Linked DNA regions of Homo sapiens: regions 2, 3 and 4 are each linked to region 1. The links are contacts of gene promoters, found by promoter capture Hi-C in human tissues and cell types (Jung and others, 2019). All regions are on one chromosome and are shown on one strand. Each heading gives the region's core, a stretch centred on a gene start or on the middle of the fragment in contact. The rest is flanking DNA. Distances are from core to core; before and after follow the strand shown. Region 1 holds the start of LRRTM1 (leucine rich repeat transmembrane neuronal 1). Region 2 overlaps CTNNA2 (catenin alpha 2). Region 3 overlaps CTNNA2 (catenin alpha 2). Region 4 overlaps CTNNA2 (catenin alpha 2).

Region 1 (3,943 bases), core at 554-3,053:
GGTTGGAGTCCAGCTGCAGGGACTGCAGGTGCGGCACGGTCTCGAACACATGGGGCTCCATGTACTCGATCTCGTTGCCCGACAAGTCCATTTTCTCCAGGTTCCAAACCCAGTCCAGCGAGCTGACCACAATGGCCACCTTGTTCCTCCGCAGGCAGAGCGAGTGCAGGGAGATGAGGCGCGGGAAGTGGGCGAAGTTCACCTTGACCAAGTCGTTGTGCTCGAGGTGCAGCTCGGTGAGCTTAAACAAGCCGGCGAAAGAGTTGCGCGCCAGACTCTTGAGCTGATTGTATCCGATGTCGAGAAACTTGAGGCTGCGGCAGTCCTGGAAGATGCGCACGGGCACAAACTGGATGGCGTTGGCCCGCATATGCAGCGTGGTGAGCTTCCGCAGCCCGTGGAAGAGGTCGGGCGCGAGCGCCTGCAGCTTGTTGTACGAGAGGTCCACGCTGCGCAGGTTGGGCATGGGCCGGAAGGTGGTGTTGGGCAGTTGGGTGATCTGGTTGGAACTCAGCGTGAGTTCCTTAACTCGGCGCAGTTTCTGAAAGGCGTCCCCCTGCACGGAGCAGATGTGATTGTGATCCAGATAGAGCCACGTGAGCTGCATTAACCCCGTGAACTGGCCGGCGCGCAGCTCCGAGAGGCTGTTGTAGCGCAGGGACAAGCCCAGCAGGCCGGACAGGTTGTGGGGCGCCTCGGTGAGGTTGAGCGCCTCGCAGTACAGCAGCCGCCCCTCGCACCGGCACAGCTGCGGGCACCCGCTGGGGGCGGCGGGCAGCATCTGAAAGCAGGCCCCCAGCAGACACAAGACCACCCCCGAGGGCCTCCTCAGCAGCCAGTATAGACAGAGACCGAGCAGCAGGAAATCCATTAGCGAGAATCTTTCCAGAGAGACTGGAGAATGTCCATTGGAAGCGCTCGGTCAGAAATCTACATCATATTTTATTCCGAGGGAGGGGAAGCGGGGGAGGGGGAGAAAAGGGCAAAAAATCAAATAAATACATAGAAATAAAGAAGGACCCCCCTCCCCAAAAACCACACGTTCACCTCTAAGCATGCAGAAAGCTGGGCAGCATAGAAAGTTCACAGCCACGGAAAGATCAAAGAGATGGTGATTTGGTCCATGTTAGATGCTGCAGCAAAGAAAAGGGAGGAAAAAAAAAATCTTCGGGAAAGAATTTAATTAAAAAGTGTCTTACCCACCCTTTTCCAGAGAGTGACAACCTCCATTCAGCTGCTCCCTTTGTGTGCAGGCTAATTATATGCAGGGCGAGAGAAGACCCCTCTGTGTTTCCGAGGCAGCCCCGGTCCGCGGCCGGCGGATCTGGCAGGCGCACAATGTCTCACTTTGCTGCTCGGCTCGGGGCTGCAAGGGCGGCCGGCAAGGCGGGGAGGCGACTTCTAGGACCCGCAAGTTTCCCAACTACGTGCCGGAGCCCGAGCTTCGCCTTCCTGCCGCCTTCCTTTCCCTCTGCAGTTCGGACTGTGACGTTGTGGGGGGAAAAAACTCCAAACTCGGGGCTCGCGACTCCCCAGGATCTGACAGTCTGGTTAATGTCCGTCATTGGAAACGACCACTGACCGGCGCCACCTTTTACTCCGCGGAAACAGCCTGCCATTCGCGCCCCGGGCAGCTGCAGAGAGCGGGCTCACTCATGCTTTGCGGGCGGCGGGCGGCGGGCGGCGGGCGGTGGGGAGGTGCGGACGGCGGCGCGGGGAGCGGCGAGCGGCGCCCGGGCTCCTTCCCTCCACCAGGCAGTGTGCGGCGCGAGCTTGCACAGGCACCTACTGCTCACTGAGTGTCGTAAGCTGCTCACGATTGTGCGTCTTCCCCGAGCACCTCAGACATGGGCAGATTGAAAAGGGGTGGGCATAAAACCAACATTTTACCGAACCACTAAAGTAATATATGTTTTTTGATGAAACGGAAAACACTTTCAGCTTTTTTGTCCATATTTCAAAAAAAAAAAAAAAAAAAAAAAGGAGGGGGGAGGGAGGTGGAGGTAGGGGTAGCATCATCCACGACAAGATATTTCCAAGTGGGAAACTGAAATGTTCTGTGCTCTCCCCCTTGCCTTTTGGGGATATATTCTTTTCCCCTTTAAAACTGTCTACGTGTAAGAGATACGTAGGAATCTGTAGAGAAATCAACGTTTGGACCTTTGCTTTAGAAAAGCAACTTGAGAGAAGACACAGGAAGGCAATGATTTGGGGCTTGGCTAAGATTTTTGGGGTTTTTTCCCCCTCTTGCGGGTACTGGAATTCTGCAGTCAGCCAGCCCTTTTTTGAGGTGGAGAGGGGAAATGCTTTCCAAACCCACCTAGTTTGGGAAGCCATCCAAGTCCCGGTGGTGTGAGATCCAGTGTGGCAAAAAGGTATGTCTGTGTGCAGGGAGACTTGACTGAGATCCCTCCGGGGCTTCATCAGGCTCCACAGATACATATGGGGTACAGAGTGGATTAAAGAACGATTGTACTGTCTGACATGGGGAGGGCTTACCCTGACTTGTGCTGTTCATGGTGATTACTGGGCCCTGCAGTGCACCCCACTCCAAGAGAGTGTGAATGTGTAGGGACGTGATAGTTTAAGCCATAATGAAGCCTACCCGTCTCCATACACACATCCTAATTAATCTTTGAGACTGCACTAAGTTGTGCCACTTTTTCCTCTGAGTATGACGAGAAGCCTTTGCCTCATTATTTCTATTCATAATCATTTATAGATAGGAGTCCTTACAATGAGCTCTCCCCCCACCTCCCCACACACACACCTTGTGCCTACTGGTCTGTAGAGGGTCTGCCCTGGGGAGGGTCAGTTGGTCATCTGTTTAAACAAAGTCCTCCAAGATGGCTGAGAAAGCCTGCGGGAAGTGAGTGTGGGCAAGCCTTCCTTCTTGACAAAGATGCCCAGGGAGATGGTAGGGAGAGTCAAATGTGAGTCTCCAGCTCCACTGTTTGAATTCCCATCGTTTCTGCCTCTAAGGAAGTCAAAATCAGTAGGCATTATATGTAGTGGCACTTACTTTGATAGGAATGAGGGTGGATTACCAGAGCCAGGGTAGATAGACTGGACAAGTAACTGGATTGGTCCTTAGCATCTAAGCTGAAGAGGCCAACCAATGGAATCAAAGTCACCAAAGACTGGTGGTACTTTTCAGGAAAAGTCATATGAACAGGGGCATGAATCATTCCATTTTGTATTCATCTGAGCTCTGCCCTGGTCATTCATCTCTGAGATGTATCATTTAATTGGAAGGAACACAAATCTGAAATGTCCTAGACATCACATGCTGTCTTAGGAGTTAGAAGAGACATTAGAAAATCAACCCCCTTAATTTTGCACGTGACTAAACTGAGGCCAAGAGACATCATGGTTTATCCAAGGTCATACAGCTTGCAACTGGCACAGATGGTTTTTTCTTTCTTTCTTTCTTTTCTTTTCTTTTCTTTTCTTTTCTTTCTTTCTTTCTTTCTTTCTTTCTTTCTTTCTTTCTTTCTTTCTTTCTCTCTCTCTCTTTCTTTCTTTCTTAATTTGCCATTCTTGATGATTGCCTCTCTGTCACTCTTGCTGCCTACCTAACTCTGGATCAGGCATTTGCATGTTTCATCCTGGCACCTCCAAGGTGCTGCGGAACACTTTAACAGACAGACAAACAAATTCACCATCAAGTGGTTTCACCTCTTGCCAAGACAATTATTCGTGACAGCAGGCCAGCTGATGGAGCCATAAACTCTAAAGGGTTGGGAGGTGGGGGAGGGGTGTTGAGGAGGCACCCGCAGGGTTAAACAGCGGCCAGCCATTCAGCGAGTACTGTGAGTACACACCACCCAATCCCTAGGGTTGCTAGGAAAAAAAAAAATCCTCCTAATGCTGGCTGCTTGGCAAAGTGGTGACAGAGGCTGCCAAATGGGCAAGAAGAGGTCCCACTTTGGATGTCACTTGA
Region 2 (3,943 bases), core at 1,071-3,570, 370 kb before region 1:
TGTTTTCTTAATGCTAGATCAATGAAAATACTGTTTCAGCTTGAATTTATGATGTAAGTGAGCCAGTTATTGAAGTAAGCTTGCTGTGTGTACACCATGAACTACTCAATTTACAATATGAAAATAATTCCCAATATTAAGTGTAAATAAAGTATGATTTACATTTTATGTAACTGCTAGTTTATGAGTACTCAAGACTTTGTACATTTTAACAAGGCCTATTTTTAATTGAATATTGAAAAACTAGATCCTCAAACTTTTCATCACATACATTGAGTTACAAACTTGACAAACCACCCCATCTTCTTCCTTGCATTTTTACCACCACACTTTGTATTTCATGCCGTGGTCATGACAGGCACCTGTTGATACCCAGAAAAAGAACTTTGAATGTGTCTACTGTAATAGTGTGCATTGATCCTGTTGATCCCTGTGATCTTTGAAGTGTGTGTTTCACCAGTCATTAATTTATTTTGTCTGTACGTACGTCATTTTAGGTCAGCTCTCTGTTGTCAATATTTCTAGCATATATATTTGATTAGCTCTAAGTGGAGATTTTTGTTTGTGGATATCTTGGACAATTATAGTTATCATTTCATGCTTTATAGGGTTTTTGTTTTCTGTGTTAACATCACCACTACCACCATAATCACAATGGTATTTATTGAGCAACCTCTGTGTAAATTGGGTAGACATTTTCTCTTAGGTCATAGATTCATGGGTTTAATATAAAAAAGGGGCGGGCAGAGGAAGCTTATATTTATTGGATATTTATTGTGTACCCACCATGTTACGGGCTATCATATTGAACCTTTCTAACAACACTGTTCGGCTAGGATTTGTATCTTCATTTTTTAAATGAGAAAATTGAATCTCACAGAGTTAAGCTACTAGACCTAGTGAAACAAAGAGGCTGAAATTCAAATCTAGATCTTTGGGCTTCTGGTATTCTCTTTTTTTTTTTTTTGAGATGGAGTCTTCCTCTGTCGCCCAGGCTGGAGTACAATGGCAAGATCTCGGCTCACTGCAACCTCTGCGTCCCGGGTTCATGCCATTCTCCTGCCTCAGCCTCCCTAGTAGCCAGGATTACAGGCACCTGCCACCACACCTGACTAATTTTTGTATTTTTAGTAGAGACGGGGTTTCACCATGTTGGCCAGGCTGGTCTCGAACTCCTGACCTCAGGTGATCCACCTGCCTCGGCCTCCCAAAGTGCTGGGATTACAGGCATGAGCCATCGCACCCAGCCCTGGAATTACTATTCTTTACATGGTCTAACCACCTGTATGCTTTTAAGCACACTTAAAATGTTTCTGTGCTTCATTTACCTGCATTAATGCTTTGTGTGGTTTTAGTTTTTTAACATTTTTTGAATAGTTGTGACAGCTTGATCACATCTCCAGATAACATTGCATATGGAGCATTTAAAGATCAGTAATAAATATAAAATTTAAGGAAGTTCCATGAGGTAATAGAAACCATTCCAAAATGAAAACAGAAGAGGTCTATGTTTTAGGTTCAGGTCGGCACTAAGCTGTAACTATAAACTTTGAATATTTTATTTATGTATAAAATGAGAAAGCAGAGATACATAATTTCTAAGGTTGAGCTTTAAAATTATATGCCTATATGGTCTGAAAAACATTCTTGAACTATTTTAATTTTGCCTATCATCCAAATACATTTTAAAAAGAAATTCTATTTTCTCTGACTTTGTGTTTGAATTAAGAAGATGAAAATCAATTTGGCCTGATTACAGAACTTAACTATATTAGGCTGGTGCAAAAGTAACTGTAAAAACAGCAATTACTTTTGCACCAATCTAATAATATCAGCAACAGCCAAACACTAATAGCAATAATAATTTGCCTACTTTTAAAATCATGTGTTATCTTTAACTGTGCAACTCTACAAAATTGTTGAGTGGTTGTTCCCATTTCACAGATAAATAAATTGAGGCTCAAATAAGTCAATATGATTGGGGTCAGAAGAGCTACTACAGGTGGGACTTGAGTTTACACTCAGCTTTCCTTGTATTCTAAGCCCATTGTCCTTACATCATTCCAAAGGCAAGTCCCAGCCCAGAAGTCTTTGAGCATCCCAAGTAGGGAGGGTATGTGGCTTAAGGGACTGGTTGCCTCTTCTGTGATGAAAGCTGTGTCCTTGCTCTGCAGCTCAGGATTAGACACTACCAGATGTGATATACAGAGGGGAACAAGGTGAGCTCTTCCTCATTTCCCCCCAAAAAAGACATGGGACCCTTTGGTGTAATGAAAGAACCTAGCCCAATGGCTTAAATCCTATTTTATGTTACAAATGTAGGTAGCATTACTGAAAAGAGATAGATTTAGAATAAATGCACCAAGGTTTTACTTTCAAAGATAAGTAGAAGTTTGAATGAGTTTGCTAAGAGGAATTTTAGAATGGATGTATAAATAGGGCTCAATAGTTATTTGGATGAGATTGCAGTTGCATAGATCCTTAACAAGTTATACAGTTAAAGTTGGTATATTTTTTTGATGTTTGCCAGAGAGGGGGAGCAGAGTTAGCATTATCTCCTTGACGGACACCCATCTTCCTCCCTAATGAATAATAACAACAATGAAAATAATGACTACATTACTGACAGGCTATTCTCTGCCAGCCGTGGTGTTAGGTGCTTTGCACTTATTACTTCTTTTGATTCTGCTGACAGCCATACTAGGGAAGAACACTATTGTCTTTGTTTTATAGATGAGGGGGCAGAGCCTCCAAAAAATTAAATGCCTTGTCCAAAGTCACATGGAGGCAAAACCACAATTTAGACTGGTCTGCCCAGAGCCCGTATTTCTTCTTTCTCTCTCTCTCTTTTTTTTTTTTTAACTTTTTATTTGGAAATAATTTTAAATTTACAAAAAGTTGCAGAAAAGTACAAAGAACGATATATGCTTTACTCAGATTTGCCTGTTAACATTTTGCCCTATTTTTGACCCCACACTCTCCTGTTACACTGCAGCCTCACAAAGAGAGGCTATCATTTATTTTTAGTGCCCTGGATTTAGTTGATCTCATGATCAGCCCAGTCTGGCTCACCTTGTTCAATGCTCTAGTGAAATTCTACATTTCAAATATCTTTGAAATAGAAGAATTGGTGTCACATTGTAGTTATACGAAGACTATACATGAGATGAATGCATAAATCTAACTGGGGTGGAGAAATGACTACCTTTTACAAATTGTCCCTCTAAAACGTTTTGGGGTTTGCTGATTATTTTCGAAAGAATGTTGACAGAGGCCTGGCAGTAATAAATAATACACCTTGTGTTATTTTTCCTTGCAGAGATTTCCTTTTTGAGTGGCATTTTTTTCCCTTTTTAGGTTTATTTACCCAGTTGTTGAAATCAAAATTAAATGCAAGTCACAGTTCTTTGGACTGTCAAAGGACATGACCAGAAGAGGGCAGACTTGCATGCTGCAACCGTTTCCCGTGTAATTGAGCAATCTGCATGCTGATGTTATAGAATGGCAATGAAGAGAGATTTAATAATAACTAAAATGAAAGGCTTATGCTTATTTGGTACAGGATTTCTAATAAGACATCAGAGTCAAAGAGGCTTAAAAGAACAATGTGCTCTATTTAGTGTATTCTAAATGTGAAGAAAACCATATTCGTTTGATTCTATTTTTTTTTTCTTTCTGAGGCAGTACTCGTTTCCTCAGTATTTCTGAGTTTGTTTTTTTTTATTTTTTTTCTCATGCTGGGATTTTTTTTTTTTCTCTGTAGTCACCCAGAGAATTTTCAGTGGTGAATGCTTTTGAATGCCTTATAAAGGTACAAAGTTTATCTACAGTTTACGGTATTATTTAATTGTCATACCTGTGAAAGGAGGAATGGTGAAAATCCCTTATTTATGCCTCTACTTCCTGAATGTGCCCTGTGGGAACAGAGTTACAGACAACCCGA
Region 3 (3,943 bases), core at 506-3,005, 270 kb after region 1:
TAGTTTTATTAATTAGAAATAGTTCAGTATGATTAAAAATTGGTAATTCTGTCTTGGTTATTCATTTATTTGCTGAAAGCTTATTAGATGTCCAAACTTTTGGAGTTGCCCTGAATACAGGATGAACAAAGCAGACAAAAGTCTCTACCCTCACAGGATTTCTATTCCTCTGGTAGGAGACAGAGAATAAACAAGGAAATATAATGTCAAACATTATGCCACAGAGAAAACCAAAGTATCCTAAAGGGGATAGAGCTTCTGGTGGGCATGGATCTCATGAAAGGAGGTACCTGGGTGGCATTTGAGAAGATACTGGGAGAAGGAAGAAGAAATAAGCCCTAACGGTACTCAGGTGGAGCATGTTTCCGGCGGAGGAAATGTCAAGTGCAAAGGTTGGAGCCAGGAACTTGACCTAGAGACCTAAGGACCTTATTGAATGAGTTGGGAGCCACTGGAGGGTTCTGAGCAGGGGAATAGTGTGATCTGACTTAGACCTTAAAAGGACCACCATGGCCATGCTGGTGAGAACAGAATGTATGGGGCAAGAGCAGAAGCAAGATCAGTTAGGAACCTCCAGAATAATCCAGGCCAGGCCAGACTTGCTGGTCGCCAATCACTCCTGACTAGGGAGTTTTTTCATTTTGTTGTTGTTGTTGTTTTGTTTTTACCTTTGGATCTCTAATTTGATTTTCTAGTCTGCAGCCCATTCCAGTGGTGTTGAGCTCTGTTGGGAAATCCTACCTCATGCATCTCTCAAGCTCTCCTGCCAACCTATATTCTCAGCCTTCTCCCAGTGAAATTCTCATACACATTTGGGCCGTTTCTTTCAATGGTTCTTATTACATTTTATGAAAAATGAGAAAATACTGAAGGATTCAGAGTCATTTCACCGGGACTCATTTGTAAAATTTACTCAACAACTCACATGTCCAGGTGAAATGACTGAATCCTTCAATACTTTCTCACTTTGTTTCTCTATAGAGGCTGTTGCAGAGGAATAGAGCACCAGCAGCAGGTGAACGGGTCCTGTTTTGCAACTGACATGTGGTATGACCCTGGTCAAGCCACATGATCTCCCTGGGCCCCTGTAATGGGCACAAGTTAATCTCATAGACTTTTAGGAGAGAATCTGGAGTCTGAATACTTGGTGCCATTTTACAGATATGACCCACTTCCATAACAAAACATAAAATAGTGGAACCACGAAACTAGGAGTAGACTTTAAATAGTTTCTGTTTATTGAAAAAAGCCTTCCCAAAGAGCACATAGAACTTTCACCCTCAGTCTCTATCCTCCAGTACAGCGAACTGTTTATTTTATTTATTCCTTTACCCTGTAACACTATCTAATGATAGAAGCGTAATCTTCCTGGGCCCATTTGCAGACCCTCTGTAATTTTCCATGTTTCCTTTAATTCATGGAGGTCTTTGACCAACTAAAAAATAGCACTCATAGTTTTAAAAATGTGTAATTCAAAAAAGAATGCCACGAGTAGGAGACACACTCACATGCAATTAGCAAACTGCACATGCACAGAACTTTTTATATGGATGGGCTGGATGGGTTTGTTGCGTGTTTAAGGTACATGTAAATAGCTTAAGCTCATCTATTTGCCTGGTGGTATTTGTGATGGTTAAAATCATGGGCTCTGAAACCGTCAACTTGTTGCCCGCCTCCATCACTTGCTAGGTGTGATGCTTTGGAAAATATACTCAACAGTTCTGAGCCTGTTCACACACCTATAAAATGGTGATTACATTTATTTCATTAGGTTTTTGTAAGGATCAAATTCTTTAGCTGAATGCCTGTCCCATAGTGGGTGGTAAACAATGATTGCCATTATTATTGCTGTTGTTGTTATTAGGTGTTATATTTTATTATTAAGCACAGTAATTATCACCATCATTTATGAATTTAGTTAATTTTTATGGTTCCTAAAGCATTTTCCTATACATCTAAGCTTAGGAGTCCTGTGGGGCAGAAAGTGCATATAGCAATTATAATCTCCGTTTTATGAGCAGGGAGACACAGAAGTAGTGAAACTAAGTGACTTGCCAAAGACATATAGCTTGTGAATGGCAGAGTTAGGTCAAAACATGCAGGTCCCCTGAGTCCTCGTCCAGGTTAATACCTCTTTTGATTTTAATGTTTTTCTTTATTTTGGTTCTTGGGCCATTGTCTCTTGAATAAAAACTCATCATTATTAGCCTTATGCTGCCAGGTTGGGTTTGTCATTGACTCATCTACTGAATGCACAGATCACTGAAATGTTTGGGCACAGTACTATAAGAACTGTCATATTCTGCTTATTTTTGTTGAATGAGATTTTTCGATTTACTTTTTCTCTTTCAAGAACTTATGACAAAAAGCGCTTGTAATCTTGTCATCTCATCTGTCAGCTGAATTTACCAACTTGCTATAATTGTCCCACAGTACACTGCAAAAGAGGGAGAAATGATCAGAGAATATTGTCTCTGTCCACAATAAAAATACAACCAGTTACTTGAACTGGGCTCTGCCTACTGTAGCCCTGCTTTAGTTAATAAAATATGAGAACAAAACCTCTTTCTTCTCTCCTTATTTTAATATTCCTATGAAAGTAAACATCTGTAGATGACTGAGTGAATGTTAATAAGGTTGATGGTGAGAGAGAAGGAAAAACAAGAGTGATATGCCAAAGCTTGGAAAATTACTAGGCATAACGTGCTATTGGCACGAAGGACCCCATTTTATGCCTGTCTGACCAATCTCAAGCCTTCATCAATAACCACACCTGATTAATTACACTGTGGTAGCCAAAGAAACCAGCAGAATAAAAATGTGCCCTTTTGGATGGGGAATGGGCAACTACATCATCGGTATTCCTTGTGGTCTGCTCTTTTCTTTTGAAAGACAAAGCCCTGGAATGTGGTCCTACTGTATGCCAAGAGGCAGTCTGTGGAAGACCATCACCTGTCAGGCTAATCTCACACTGATTCACTCACTCACTTTTGTGCACCATCCTTACTACCGTTCGAATTTAACCTCATAGAGTTAGCAAAGCCTTAGAGCAAGCTATAACGTCTCATGCCTCAGTTTTCCTACCTGGAAAATGGAGAAAATAATGTCTACATCATACGAGTGTTAAGAAACCTGCGTGAGTTAGTGCCTGTAAAGCACTTAGAAAAAACGTTGACAGACACATACATGGTAAGCACTTAATGCACAGTTATCTATTATTATTGCCATTGAAGATGGAAAGGTGTTTTGTTCCTGGGCTTATGGATTCTTTCTTATCTTTTCCTTATCACTGACTTTATAGATTGGAAAGGATCTTGATCTAACTCTACTCTTTTTAAGCAATTTTATAACTTCAGTTCTTGCTAAATTTGTAACGTGAATAAACTACAACAAAAACTAATAATGAGAAGTATGTTTGGAGTCAGACACACCTGGGTGTTTAGATCTAACTTCTGGTTCTTTATTAACTAATTTAGGGATATGGGGCAAATGGCTTAACTTCTTTGCACCTTGTATTACTTACCTCTAAATAGAGAATGATCCCTAATGTCACTGTGCTCATCTGAGCTAAATTGATAATACATATGTAAAAGTTATTTAATCCTTTATGGGTATGTGGTAATCAGTAGCTTCATTTCATAAACTTTGTTGAATGAATTGATTTAAAAATCCTAATAATAATGATGGGCCAGGCACAGTGACTCATGCTTGTAATCCTAGCAATTTGGGAGGCCAATGCGGGCAGATCACTTCAGGCCAGGAGTTCCAGACCAGCCTGGCCAACGTGGTGAAACCTTGTCTCTACTAAAAAATACAAAAATTAGCCAAGCATGATGGTGTACACCTGTAATCCCAGCTACTTGGGTGGCTGAGGTACAAGAATAACTTGAACCTGGGAGGTGGAAGTTATAGTGAGCCAAGATCCCACTGCTGCACTCCAGCC
Region 4 (3,943 bases), core at 521-3,020, 270 kb before region 1:
AGGAATTCAAGACCAGCTTGGGCAACATGGTGGACTCTGTCTCCACAAAAAAAATTAGAAATTAGCCAGGCTTGGTGGCATGCACCTGTAGGCCCAGCTACTCAGGAGGCTGTGAGGTGGGAGGATCAATGAAGCCCAGGAGGTTGAGGCTGCAGTGAGTGACCCGTGATCAGGCCACTGCACACCAGCCTGGATGACAGAGTGAGACTCTGAAAAACAAAAACAAAAACAAAAAACACTCACCAAATTCGTAGAATCAGACACATTAGTTCTGAAGTTTATATGCAAAAATCAGCAAATTAGACAATGAATGAACAAATACCGTATAAGAAGATTAATGAAGTATCTATGGTTAGAAATTGAGAATACACTGCAAGCTTCTATGAATACATGAAGAGATCTCTGGAAAATAATGGACATTCTGGACAGTTGATCTAAATGCATATGGAAATTCAGTGTATGAAAATGTATCATCTTAAAGCAGTGAGGAAAATATAGATCATTCAGTAAAAATTGTAGCAGTCTGCAACAAAAACATAAAATTACTGTTGGATTGTTATCTTGAGCCACACACCAGCATAGATTACAAACAAATCAAAGCTTATAATGTAAAAAAAAAAAAAAAAAAAAGCACTGAAAGAAAACATGGACAAATTCCTTTATGAACTTGAAGTAGAGAGGCGGCTTTTAAATATGACTGAAAATCCATTAATCATTAAAGGAAAGGATAAATCCAACCATATGAAAATAAAAACCTTCTCTACGGGGGAACATGTCAAAAGACCACTGATTGACTGGGAGAAGCTTCTGCAATTCATATAACAGGCCTAATTTTCCGTAAAACATCCCTATAAAAAGAGATTTTGGAAATCATGAAGAAAAAAGATTTTCTACTCAATAGAACTGAAAAAGAATATAAACAAATAATCACTGACAGGGAAGTACAAACAGTTCTTAACCATATGAAAAATGCTGAATTTCATTTTTTTTTCTTTTTTTTTTTTTTTTTGATACGGAGTCTCGCTCTGTCACCCAAGCTGGACTGCAGTGGCATGATCTCGACTCACTGCAACTTCCACCTCCCAGGTTCAAGCGATTCTCCTGCCTCAGCCTCCCAAGTAGCTGGGACTACAGGCAACCACCACCACTCCTGGCTAATTTTTGTATTTTTATTGGAGTTAGGGTTTCACCATTTTGGCCAGGCTGATCTCAAACTCCTGACCTCAGGTGATCCGCCCGCTTCTGCCTCCCACAGTGCTGGGATTACAGGTGTGAGCCACCACGCCCACCCTCAACTTCATTCTTAATAAAATAAATGCAAATTTAAAATACATTGAGATACTGTTAGTTTGGTTTTTCTTTTTCACTTGTCAAATTGGCTGAAATCCACAATTTGATAAAACATTCTGTTGGTGAGAGCGTGAGGAAATGGACATTCTCATAGAATGCAGTGGGGGAGGAAGGGAGCATAAATCTGCACAACTCCTGTAGAAGAAGTCTGTTTAGAAACAACTACAAAAATTACAAAATTTCAAATTCATATACCGCTCTGAGAATACAGAGAAATGCTGTCCTTGGAACTTATCCTTCATATTATGTGAAATAATACGTAAAATTTCATTATGGCATTCTTTTAAAAATAGCAAAAGGTTAGGGAAAAATCCAGTGTCCATCATTAGGGGACTGGTTAAATGAAGTATGGTCCATCCATACAAATGAACATTATGTAATTGAGAAAAAGAATGTGGCCCCTCCCTATGTGTTATTTTGGGTAAATCTCCCAGGGATACGGTTCAGAAACAATTCAACATAAAGAGGAGTGTGTGTAGCAGGTTGACTTTTGTGTTACAAAGGGAAAATAGTAACATATGTTCATACTTGCAGGTTTCTAATCCTGTCTCCACCGCTTACATCTGGGTAAATTTGGGCAAGTTACATGTTGTGTCTGGGCTTCAATGGTATCACCTAGAAACGAAGATAATCACTACCACCTAAAAAAAATTGGGAAGATTAAATGAGAAAAATATTTACAAAGCACTTAGCAAGGTATTTGGTTCACAATTGTTGTAAAAAGGACAGTTACTACTCTAAGGGGCTCTGCCTTCTCTATATAAACTTATAAACTTTAGAAACTAATCTGACAGCCTAGCACCTACTAATATTTATTTGCTATAGTTCACCCAGTGTATTTGTACATTTAAAAATATATATCTCATGAAGTCCCAGAGTGCCTGAGGATTGAAAGGGGACAGCATCACAGCTCTAATGCTAAGAGATACAGACCATTAAGGCTCCATCTGAAATCAAGTATCTTTAAAAAATAAAAAAAAGAAGGAAGTAAAATTCAATTTGTATGAAATTTGATTTGCACAAGTTCTCAGAGAAACAGGAACTGGATAAAGTGAATTTCACCTGTATCGAATCATCAGTCACCTTCAGTACCTAGGAAGACACCAAAACAACATCTGGCAATCAATTTTCCATCTTTCAGTGCAGCCTGAGGAACTGGGTAGCAACCAGCATGGTATTGTAAAGAGAAAACTGTGTGGGCCAATTCAATTTCCTCCTATGACAGAATGACAGGTCACAGAGATAGGAGAAAAGCAATAGATGTAATCTACATGAGCCACAGCAAGTCTTTTGATTCAGTCCCACATGACGGTCTCATCAGGGCTTTCTGAGGATTGGGTCTAAATCAGGGTTTGAGGAACTGGGGCCCCTCCTACCCCCACCAGCGTCACCCAACCCTAGCAGAGTGCTGGATAGAAGCAGTGCGATAATCTACTAGAGACTGGAGCATGTCAGGGACGACAGAGAAGATAGAAGGGATAGAGGGAGGTGAAATTAATGCAGACCCAGAGACAGAGTAAGAAAGAGAGAGTCAGAGACAGAGAGAATGTGTGGAAAGTTTCTAGGATTAGGAGACTGTAAGTATAGGTTAAGACACTCAGACAGGTGCAGTTGCTCACACCTGTTATCCCAGCAATTTGGGAGGCCAAGGTGGGAAGATTGCTTGAGGCCAGGAGTTCCAGACCATCCCTGCAACATAGCAATACCCCATCTCTACAGAAGAAGTAAATAAGTAAATAAAAATTAGCCTGGTGTGGTGGGATGTGCCTGTAGTCCCAGCTACTTGGGAAGCTGAGGTGGGAAGATTGCTTGAGCCCAGAAATTCTAGGTTGCAGTGAGCTATGATAGCACCACTGTACTTTAGCCTGGGCAACAGAGTGAGACCCTGTCTTAGTGAAAAAAATAGGAACAAAAGTAAATAAAAATAGAAACACTCAAGGAGATAAACATGAGCTGGGAGACTATGTTGACAGCAGGGAGCTTCTCATGGGAAGGGAAGATCCTGGTGGGTGGGGAAGCCAAGCACCTCCATGTCACTGAGGATGTAAAGAAAAATGGACAAAAGAGAATACCATTCACAGTCACTCACTCATTCATTGTGTGTGTGTGTTTGTGTGTGTGTGTGTGTGTGTGTGTGAGAGAGAGAGAGAGAGAGAGAGAGAGAGAAGAGGAAGGAGGTGAAATCTCAATTAGGAGTTTTGTGAGAAACTATTGGGTTATGAAGGTGGGAAGAGCGGAGCTCACACTGGGAACTCTGCTTCAGGATCATATAGATATTGGAAAGTTTCGTTGTAGATATTGGTGAAACTTGTCCATTGAATTACTGTAGAACTGGAAAAGGAGGAATGAATGTTACTGTTGAGTCAAAGATACGAATATGAGGACCTAAGCTGGATGGACCAGTTTCTCTTTTGCTAGCTGTCCTAGCTCAGATTCTGGACTTGTTGTAAGAAGATGAAGGGGTGAGGGAATATGGGTCACAAATAGCTTTGACTTCAGTCCAAAGAGCCCTCTAATGTAAAGAAGACTTGGTATTTTCTCATCCCAGGGAAATCATGGCCTTATTTTTAACACAATAAGGTAAATTTTCTCA

The links. Contacts are between HindIII fragments. The study calls those that stand out against the background at their distance.
Region 2: a contact is called between a fragment that was not itself captured here and the fragment with the promoter of LRRTM1 in region 1, in 3 of the 25 tissues and cell types used here (H1 embryonic stem cells, hippocampus and thymus).
Region 3: a fragment that was not itself captured here is called in contact with the fragment with the promoter of LRRTM1 in region 1 in 2 of the 25 tissues and cell types used here (dorsolateral prefrontal cortex and liver).
Region 4: a fragment that was not itself captured here is called in contact with the fragment with the promoter of LRRTM1 in region 1 in 2 of the 25 tissues and cell types used here (heart right ventricle and hippocampus).

What each region holds. Positions count from the first base shown.
Region 1 is chr2:80,302,949-80,306,891 of GRCh38, forward strand. It overlaps LRRTM1 (leucine rich repeat transmembrane neuronal 1), which reads right to left and starts at 1,804. Exons shown (of 2, transcript NM_178839.5): 1 at 1,204-1,804; 2 at 1-930. The coding sequence starts at 871. All of the region lies in intron 7 of CTNNA2 (catenin alpha 2), which reads left to right. RefSeq lists an enhancer at 621-1,246. The HindIII fragment of the contact is 15,461 bases long and covers 1-3,943 here.
Region 2 is chr2:79,932,506-79,936,448 of GRCh38, forward strand. All of the region lies in intron 7 of CTNNA2 (catenin alpha 2), which reads left to right. Among named protein-coding and RNA genes, the nearest start is that of MIR8080, 68 kb to the left of the region's middle. The HindIII fragment of the contact is 3,809 bases long and covers 417-3,943 here.
Region 3 is chr2:80,577,047-80,580,989 of GRCh38, forward strand. All of the region lies in intron 13 of CTNNA2 (catenin alpha 2), which reads left to right. Among named protein-coding and RNA genes, the nearest start is that of LRRTM1, 270 kb to the left of the region's middle. The HindIII fragment of the contact is 4,187 bases long and covers 1-3,849 here.
Region 4 is chr2:80,033,363-80,037,305 of GRCh38, forward strand. All of the region lies in intron 7 of CTNNA2 (catenin alpha 2), which reads left to right. Among named protein-coding and RNA genes, the nearest start is that of MIR8080, 170 kb to the left of the region's middle. The HindIII fragment of the contact is 3,939 bases long and covers 1-3,740 here.